Linked DNA regions of Homo sapiens: region 1 is linked to region 2. Evidence: promoter capture Hi-C in 16 types of primary human blood cells and fetal thymus (Javierre and others, 2016). All regions are on one chromosome and are shown on one strand. Each heading gives the region's core, a stretch centred on a gene start or on the middle of the fragment in contact. The rest is flanking DNA. Distances are from core to core; before and after follow the strand shown.

Evidence for each region. The method cuts DNA at HindIII sites, captures the fragments that hold promoters and counts their contacts. A CHiCAGO score of 5 or more calls a contact.
Region 1: a fragment that was not itself captured here is called in contact with the fragment with the promoter of CPNE6 in region 2 in 2 of 17 cell types (naive CD4 T cells and total CD4 T cells); the score reaches 7.5 in naive CD4 T cells.

Annotation. Positions count from the first base shown.
Region 1 is chr14:23,608,944-23,613,843 of GRCh38, reverse strand. No RefSeq gene overlaps it. Among named protein-coding and RNA genes, the nearest start is that of DHRS2, 25 kb to the left of the region's middle. The HindIII fragment of the contact is 2,476 bases long and covers 2,394-4,869 here.
Region 2 is chr14:24,069,359-24,074,392 of GRCh38, reverse strand. CPNE6 (copine 6) reads right to left here and starts at 2,831. Exons shown (of 17, transcript NM_006032.4): 1 at 2,752-2,831; 2 at 1,289-1,460; 3 at 715-894; 4 at 268-342; 5 at 28-102. The coding sequence starts at 1,456. It overlaps CARMIL3 (capping protein regulator and myosin 1 linker 3), which reads right to left. Exons shown (of 40, transcript NM_138360.4): 40 at 4,664-5,014. The coding sequence ends at 4,989. The HindIII fragment of the contact is 6,300 bases long and covers 1,249-5,034 here.

The DNA.
Region 1 (4,900 bases), core at 2,382-4,881, 460 kb after region 2:
TTTTTTTGTACTGTCTTTATTTGGTTTTAATATCAGCATAAAACAAGTTTTATAAAATGAATTGGGAAATATTCCCTCCTCTTCCATTTTCTGGAAGAGATTATGTGGAATTGGGCAGATCTCTCTAGTATATTCCAGAGGGGACAAGTGTTTCTTTCTTTCTTTGTTTAACAATGGTTAATGATTAGCTTGTGGAGGTGAGCCACTTATCTAATACAAGGTTCAATTCTACCCTATTTGTTTTTGTTTGCATTTTGAGATGAGGTCTCGCTCTGTCACCCAGGCTAGAGCGCAATGGCATGATCATAGCTCAGTGCAACCTCGAATTCCTGGGTTCAAGCAATTCTGCCTCAGCCTCCCAAGTAGCTAGGACTATGGGCGTGCACCACCACAACTGGCTAATTTTTTAAGTTTCTGTAGAGACAGGGTCTTGCTATGTTGCCCAAGCTAATCTCGAATTCCTGGCCTCATGCAATCTCCCACCTCAGCCTCTGAAGGTGCTGGGATTACAGGCATGAGCCACCACACCCGGCCTACCCTATTTGTTTTTATATATCTATGATTCTACTGTAGCTTTACCATGTGCCAGAAACTATTTTAGGCACTTTGTAAATATTAAATCTTTTACTCTTCATAACAACCATTTGAGATAGGTACTAGGATTGTTCTGATTTTACAGATGAGGAAACTGAGACACAGAGAGATAATGTAATTGGCACATGGTCACATAGCTAGTAAACAGCCCAGGCTTCTCTTCCCTTAACCACAGTGCTCTTCTGTCCACAGAAGAGGACATTATTATTATTATTTTCCTACTCTAGATAAGGAAACTGAAGCCTAGAGAGCTGAAGTGATTTGCCCAACTGAATGTAACCAAAGTAGAATTCTTGATTCCCACCCACCTCTCTCTCTACATCTCCCCATCTCCGAAAAGTGTTCTAGCCAAAAATTTGAGTGTCCCTTGAGTTTTCTCTTCACCTTACCTTCTGCTTTTAATCCATCAGCCAATCTTGTTGATTTTGCCTCCAAAATATGCATCAAGTTCTCCGCTTCTCTCCATCTCCGCCGCGCTCTCTCATCTGACCACTTCATTCCACTCATACACTCTCACAAGCTATTCTCTTTCCACCTGCAGACAGCATTAGCATTTTAAACATCAGTCTCCACTGCTTAAAACTCTGCAATGGCTTGCCATTGTACTAAGAATCAAATCCAAATTATTTCCCCAACTTACAGAGCCCCCACGGTGTCTGGCCCCAAGCTCTTCCCAGACCATCCTACTGCACTTTCCCCTCCACCTGCGTGCTTCAGCCTCCAGCCGGCCAGGTCAGGCCTGCCTTCACAGTCCCTGTATCTGCTGGCCCTTGAAAGCTCTTCCCACAAACACTTCATTGCTGTTAAATGTCAACCCTCATAGAGACATTCCCTGTTCACCTGGTATGAGACAGATCCTCAGCAGCGCTCTCTCCCACTTTTCTCTTTTATTTTCTTCATGGCACTTATCACCTGCCTAATATTTTTTGTTTGTTTGTTTAGGTTATTTCCTCACCTACTGGAATGTAAGCTCTGCAAGCTTATACTAATAACTAACACTTACGTAGTCCTTATTTTGTGCCAGGCACTGTTCTAAGTACTTTATATGTGTAAACTCACTTAGTCTCCACCACTATCCTGAAAAGTTGCACTCTGAACATCTCTGTGTTTCAGAAGATAAAACTGAGCAACAGAGAGGCAAGGTAACTTATCTATGGTCACACAGCTTGTAAGTCGTGAAGCTGGGATGCAAGCCCAGGCAGTCTGGCTATGGAGTCTGTGCTCTTTTTTTTTTTTTTTTTTTTTTGAGACGGAGTCTCGCTCTTATCGCCCAAGCTGGAGTGCAGTGGCGTGATCTCGGCTCACTGCAACCTCCACCTGCCGGGTTCAAGCAATTCTCCTGCCTCAGCCTACTGAATAGCTGGGATTACAGGCGTGTGCTACCACGCCCAGCTAATTTTTGTACTTTTAGTAGAGACAGGGTTTCACCACATTGGCCAGGCTGGTCTCGAATTCCTGATCTCAGGTGATCTGCCCACCTTGGCCTCCCAAAGTGCTGGGATTACAGGCATGAGCCACCGTGCCTGGCCGAATCTGTGCTCTTAACCCTCATCCTTTATGACCTTCATGGGAGTGGGGTGCTTATTTGTATTGTTCTCCACCAAGTTTCCAGCACCTGTAATAGTGCCCGACAGAGGGGAAGCACCAATAAATATTTGTAGAATAAGCAAATGAATGTTGTATAACTGGTTTAAAGATAAAGCTTGCCTTTGAACCAGATTGGTCGGGCTCCAAAACCACACTCTCCAGAGTATGGGATTGTAGTATTTCAATTTTCAACTCAGAAATTCACTGAAGCTTGCCCTCTACTCTAAAGATGTCTACAGTCCTGTGGGGAAGGCATATTTAAGTAACTACAAGCCAGGTAGAAAAACTGCGGTGTCACAAGGAAAGGGCACACAAAGTGCCATGAGGGAGTGATAACTTTTAACTAGTAGCTCAAGGAAGGATTTGAGGTGAAAGTGGCATTTGCACTGGGTTTGGAAGACTCTGGACAGGCAGAGATGAGAAGGAGCATGTAACTGAAACTACAAGTTGTCTCCTAATGTCTGTTTCCTCTTCTTCCACAGTAATCATATTCCAAAATGTTAGCTGTGCAATTGACCACTGAGAATAAAGGCTATATTTCCCAGCTGCCCTTGCAGCCAGGCACGGCTACCTGACCATGTTCTGCATAAAAGGTTATAGAGAAGTCAGGGATGAAACTTCCATGAGGTGTTCTCAAGTGGAAGGAGCATGCCCACCTCCTTTCTTTGTCTCCCTCCTGCTGTCTAGAACATGACTCTGATGACTGGAGACAAAGCAGCTATCTTTGGCCTCAGAAGGCACATGTTGAGGATGTGGACTACAATGTTGAGGCAGTCTGATCACGAAGGCACGATATGAGGCCCGCTACAGTCTTGTTTAAGCCACTGTTACAAGTGTCTTAGGTTGGGTTACCACAGCAGATCCTAAGACAAGGCTTTATGTGCAAGTAGTTTATTAAACAGATGCTCCCAGCAGGGAGCAATGGCTCCTATCTATAATCCCAGAACTTTGGGAGACCAAGACAGGAGGATTGCTTGAGGCCAGAAGTTTCAGACCAGCCTGAGTAACATAGTGAGACCCCTGTCTCTACAAAAAATTTAAAAATTAGCTGATCAGGTCATGTGTGCCTGTAGTCCCAGCTACTCAGGAAGCTGAGGCAGGAAGTTCCTTTGAGCATAGTAGTTTGAGGTTACAGTGAGCTATGATTATGCCACTGCACTCCAGCCTTAGTGGCAAAGTGAGACCTTGTCTCAAAAATAAAAATTAAAAAAATGCTCCCAGGAGAAACCAGTAAGGGAGTGTGGAAAGTAAGACAGGGAAGGGAGGAGGACAAGCAAGGGAATGTTTCAGCAAAGCCCCAGCCTTAGCCTGGTCCCAAAGGTCAGTTCTGGAGTGTAAACTACACCTCACAGTTTGCCCAGATTTCAGACAATGGAACTAGGCTGTTACCTAGTTCAGCTAAAGGCTGCCCCTGCTTCTCTCGATGTGCAGAAGCTGTGGGAGATGATTAAACGGGTCACAGGGGCTCTGGTGCAACCTCAATGGGCCCCTTACACTGGGTTTTCTCTCACTCATAACTTAACCTAATCCTAAAAAGTACCAAAAACATTTCTGGCAGAGGGGAGAGTATAAATAAAGTGCACAGAACCTGAAGGAACAAGAGGCTATATGAAAGTATTGGAAAGGAAGAGGACAGGAAAGAAAGAAATAGGAAACAAATTTGGAAAACCAAACTGTAGTCACTGGGACTTGATATGGTTTGGCTGCGTCCCCACCCAAAACTCATCTTGAATTGTACCTCCCCACATCTCGCTTCTGCACTGCCCTAGCAGAGGCTCTCCATGAGGGCCCTGCCCCTGCAGCAAACTTCTGCCTGGACATCCAGGCATTTCCATACACAGCAGTCGGGGCCTGGAAATGTAGGGTTGAAGCCCCCACACAAAGTCCCCACTGGGGCACTGCCTAGTGGAGCACCATCCTCCAGACCCTAGAATGGTAGATCCACCAACAGCTTGCACCATGCACCTGGAAAAGCCGCAGACACTCAACACCAGCCCATAAAAGCAGCCGGGAGGGACTTTGTACCTTGCAAAACCGCAGGAGTAGAATGACATGGTTTGGCTATGTCCCCATACTGTTCTCATGATAGTGAATAAGTCTCACGAGATCTGATGTTTTTATAAGGGGCTTCCCCTTTTGCATGGCTCTCTATCTTGCCTGCCACCATGTAAGAAGTCCCTTTGCTCTTCCTTGGTCTTCTGCCATGACTGTGAGGCCTCCCCAGCCATATGGAACTGTGAGTCCATTAAACCTCTTTTTCTTTATAAATCACCCAGTCTTGGGTATGTTTTATCAGCAGCGTGAAAATGAACTAATACAGAACTGTATAAAATTTTGAATTTCTGGCCAATGCATAAACAAAGGGAAACCAAAAGGACTTTGAATCTGATGATTCAGAAGATTAATCTGGCAACTATGTGTGAGAGGAATTGGAATGAAACTTGTGTAGGGTAATACCCATTATGAGGTCATATCTATAATCCAGGCAAGAGGTAATGGTGGCACAACCCCAGGTGATGGTGCTGGGAAGGGAAAGTAGAGAATAGTTGCGAAGTCTTACAGAGAAAGATCTGGTCTTTCTAAATGCTTTGACACGAGAGAAAAGAGACAGAGAGGATCCAAACATGAAGCCAGGGACAATGGTGGCATTGCCAACAAAAATAGGTAACAGAGGAGAAGAAACAAGCTTGATAGAAAATATGAATTCTACCTATTGACA
Region 2 (5,034 bases), core at 1,582-4,081:
TGGGGGCCTGGACTCTGGGGTTCCAACCTTGTTGTCCAGCTTGTAGGCTCTGAAGGTGAGTTGCACATAGTCGTTTGTGCCTGATACCTCCTCGGCCACGATCTGCAAGGGGGATACAAGTGGCAGGACTCCCCTAACCTTACCACAAGGGCCACCCCATCCCCTTTCCCTTAGGTGGGGGTGGTCCTGGGCATGATGTCACCATAGGTGTCCATGCAGGGGCATTGAATACCTGGACCAAGGGTGAGTACAGGTGATCTTGCCTACCGTGATGGTGGACTTGCCCGCAGTCTTCCCATTCTTCAGCAATAATGGCTTAGTGACCTTGGTTTGTGACACAATCTGGGGATGGAGGTGGAGGGAGACCCAGCTGTGACATCCCCATCTGCCTTGGCCACGTACAAGGGATGGAATAATAAATGCTCTGAGTGTCTGCAAGGGTTGGCACTTTGAGTTGGGCTAGGGTTGGGCTCAATTTTTACAATAGTCTGAAGAGGGAAGCACTCTGACCACTCCTCCATTTTTTAGATAGGAAAACTAAGACTCAGAGAGGTTAAGTATCTTTCCTGAGGCTGCACAGCTAGTGAATGGCAGAGATGGGAGCCAAGGCTGGGTTGAACTAGCTCTAGAGCTCATGTTTTCTCTCTTTTTGGCTTCCAGAGGCAAAGCTGATGGAGGTAGGGTAGGGTAGCCGGGGAGGCCGGGAATGCAGACCTGGCCCAAGGTGCACTCCGTAGAGCCGAGGAAGGTATCATTTCGGGGGCTGGTGGCTCCGTCCTCGGCATCGAACACGTGGAACTGCAGGGGCTGCTTCTCCTCAAAAAAATACTCAAGGGCCAGCACCCGGGAGAAGACAGGGCTGGAACAGGAGCGAAGCACCTCTGTGCGCTCTACCTGTGGTAGTGGTTGAAGGGAGGCGAGGGCTGTCTGGGAACCGAGGATACTTTTCCCTGTCCTGGACTGCCCTAGTCATGCCAGCTCTTCTTGGGCCCCCACGTCCCCAGCAACCAGCTCTTCTCTTCCTAAGCTGATCCCTGAGCTTGGGGTGCTGCCTGCCCACTGGACTCTCAGTCCTCCGGGCTATCATGAGGCCTTTGGGAGCAACCCCACTGCCTCTGGGTCAATCTCAGGACCCTCTGGGACACCATCTCCAGGGTACCCAAGCGGCCTCGAGAAGGCGCCGCAGAGTCCACACATTTCCCTGCAAGGCTTTCACTGCTCCCACCCAGCCTCCCTCTTTCCCAAGCTTAACCCAGGTTAGTTAAGGAGAAACCTGAGCTGCTCTCACCTCCACCCACTGCTCATCAGAGTAGAGCTTGAGCAGCACGCAGGGGTGGGGTTTGGTGAGTGTGTCCCGGTCCAGGAGGCCATGGCAGGACACCCGCAGCTCCACCCGAGAGGCCCCCAGCGTCATGGTTGGGGGCTCAGGCACCCATCCCATCTCAGGGTCCGACATGTCACTGTGGGGACAGAGCAGGTGGCCTGGACTCTGGAAAGGGAACACCTGCCAGCAGAGGGGTCTATCCTCTAGGGTCCCTGGGCCCCACCCCTTAACCTCCTTCCCTAGACCCTGGGGCCTCACGGACCTCCTGCTTCCTCAGCTTCACCAGAGTTCTGAGCAGGGGAGGGCAGAGGACCTGAGCCTCCCACTCCTGCTCAGAAGCCCTGTGCTGCTGGCCTAGGTATGCGTGGATGGGGCTGGAGAGGGCTGAAGGATTGGGGTGGGGATGTTCCTGGCAGTCTTGGCTCCTAGGCCATCGATTGATCTACACTTTCTGCCGCCTCAGCACCTTCTGCTATTTCCCGACTGGTGTTGTGCCAGCGCTGCACTCAGTCTTGGCACGAGGGAGCTAAACTAGGGCAAGGGGGTGGGGCAGGGGGTGGAGAGGCCTCTGGAGTTCTGAAGAGGATGGGTCTCAGAAGTGGAGTCTGCAGTGGGCAGGAGACAGGTTGGAAAGTCCCCTGCTGGGCTATCCCTATCCACTCCCTACCCCCATTCCCCTTCTGGCTAGCTGATGGAAAAGGAGTGGTGGTGGGCTGGGAGGCAGGACCAGGGCTCTGCTGAAAGCTCCTTCAGGCTCCTGGCAGGAGCTCTAACTGTGACAAGCCTCACATCCCTCCCCACCTCCCCTGTTTTCACACTTCTTGGCAGCACTGGCACCGTCTCTTAGCGACAGGATTTTTGGGGAGTCGTGGCTCCCTCCATGCTGCCCGTGGGATGCACGCATGCCACCTTCCCCCAGCAGTGGTACCAAGCCTCGGGCTGAAGCAGGCAGGGGTATGCCGGCCAGAGTTCATGGCCGGTCAGTCCATCTATCTGTGTCTGTACAGATCTCAGGGTGAGGCTGTCTGATCCCATGTCATGCTTCCCCGAGTGAGTGTGCATTGGTGTGTCTGAGTGCCCCACCCTCCGTGTCTGTCCCCCCATGTCGTGTGTCCGTTTCCAGGAGGGTGTGACAGTTCCTGTACCTCCCTCAGAAGTGGGACCTTTCTCTGGCTGGGTATCTACCTCCCCACAGTGTGTGCCTTTCTGGATATGTGAGGGAGGGTCTGGGCTGGGGGAGGGGGGTCTCTGCCTTCCAGCCACAAGTCTCCCAGTTCTTGGGGGTCCCCGAGATAGGCAGGGGCTTGTGGTGGTGAAGGGATTGGGCAGGGCTGGGATCTCTCTGCGGGCTCCAGGAGATGTTGTTATGGAGACTGGGCCAAGCTGGGCTGGGCTGGGGCTGGGCTGGGGAGGAAGGGTGGGCTCACCTGGGCTCTCGGTCGGGGGCTCCTCTCTCCGGCTCTCTGGCCCTGGCCCTGACTCCCTTGCTGCTCCAGCCGCTGGCGCCGGCTCCAGCTCCGGCTCTGCTGCTATTTATGGGGCCTGGATGGGGAGGGGTGGGGGGGGGCGCAGCACCAGCTCCCCCCGCGTGGATGGATTGGGAGGGAGAAGAGGGAAGGGGCAGGGCCACAGCCTGGGAGGGAGCCACAGAACCGGGGGAGGAGGGCAGGCTGGGGGTGGCTTAGAGGCAGGACCCCCACAGACACAGTGACACACATCTTCCCCTTCACACTACACCCACACCCAGAATCGCAGAGATGCGCACATTGCAGTGGCATGCACATACACATTCAAACAGAGAAATGATGGCGACACATGCACCCACGACTCACAGGCTCACACATATCTTGACACACACAGGCGCCAGTACATAAACTCACTGTGACACCACGACAGTTACAGCCCCCGGCGGATACACATTGGGAAACATACCCCTTCTCACATCACTTTCAACATTGTTACACTAGCTAAGGATATCTGCAGTCACATATACAGGAACACTGGGCTGTCCTTGTCACACATGTACTCACTCAAACTAACCCGGAATACAGCAGGATGTGATCTTCCCGTGCTCCTTAAAAGCCATCACATACCTTGCTGAACGTCATAGCTTTGAGAATGATGTCCAGTTCCCTAGCCACCATTTTATAAGGAGACACAGGAAATGGACATAATTGCTTAAGGACACCCAACCTCATATCCTGGTCACATGAGGGCATCTGCTGAAGGACTGACTCCCAAGGCTTCTTCCCGGTGCCACAATGTACCCAACACCCCCCAAGATTCAACCCATATGGCCTTACCCTTGTGGGAGGGGCTGTGCCATGCACAGATCTTAAGGAAACAAAACAAGTAATTCCTGGTGAAATCAGTAAGTAAGGGAAGTAAGCAGTTGCCTGGGGAGCTGCAAACCACACATGAAGACATTTGGGCACATTGTGGTCTGCGATGAGTACGCAAGAGCATTTACCTTCGCCCTCCATCCCCTTAAGCTGCTCATGTATTAATATAGCAGCCATTTATTGAGCATCTCCTGGGTGTCAGGCACTGTGCCAGGTGCTGGGGCTACACAGGTGATTAAGACACAGCCTCTGCCCCTGGGGGAGGCAGATGTATATGGAACAGAAAGACAGGCAGACAGAGAGAGGATAAGCCAATACGCATACGCAATGAAGCGTGACAGGTGCAATGTTATGGACCTGCTCAGGATGCAGTGGGAGCACATTAAAGCAGGGTGCAATATGGATGAGTGGGGAAGGCATCAGGAAGGACTTCACAGAGGAAGGGGCTTTTGAGTGGGATCTTGAATGCCAAGATAGTATTTGCTAGAACACCATGGGAGACAGCTACTTTAGTTGCTGACCTCATGCCACAGAGACTTCTGTTCACCTGCAAGCCACTCTGCTATTGAGACTTCTGACTAGTGAGGGTGCCCCCAGGACGACACAACATCATGTAATTCCCCCATTAGTGTGCATGCATGCACACACACACACACACACACACTGCTCCCGTGTCCCTCTGGTACACTGGGGCTTCCAATCCCATTACACCCCCAAAAGCTGGACAGACTTTGTGTTGGTTTCTGTCCTTTTGGTTCTTTCTCCAGGAAGCTCAGCCCTGACCCTGGGCATAACACCCATCTTGGCTTGGGGACTTATCAGTCCCCTTCCCTCGGCAGTTCTCTGTTTTTTTCTCCTGCTCCTCTCAGAACCCCAAGTCTATCCCTGTGGAATGTTTCTCATTTTTCTCCACTGTGGCCAAGCTCTGAGGGTTTGTGGGAAGAGAGCAGATTGTGGAGGCAGTGAATGGGGAAGATAGCAGAGACTCGAGGCAGGCGATGATTTTGTTTTTTTATTCTATACAAGAGGGGAGAGAGTCCCTGGGGATAGAGGGACAGAGATCCACCCTCCTGGGGGAGGAGATAAGCCCCCACCCAGAAGCTCTCTGCAGAGAGAGGTATCGAGGCAGGCACTGACAGCCTCCGTCTCTCCAGGTGGCTCCCTCTGTTCTAGTCCCTGCCTCCAGCTCCCCCATGCCTGGTCCTGCCGTCTTGCCCCTGTAGGACAGGGGCTGGCAGGGGGCCCTGGGGACTGGGGGTGGATAGGGGTCTGAGTCCTTGCGAGGCACATGTCGAGGGCTGAGGAGGGTGTTGTGGCAGTTGTCAGTCTGTTCCTGGCTCACTGGTTCCTGCTGGGGACAAATCCAGG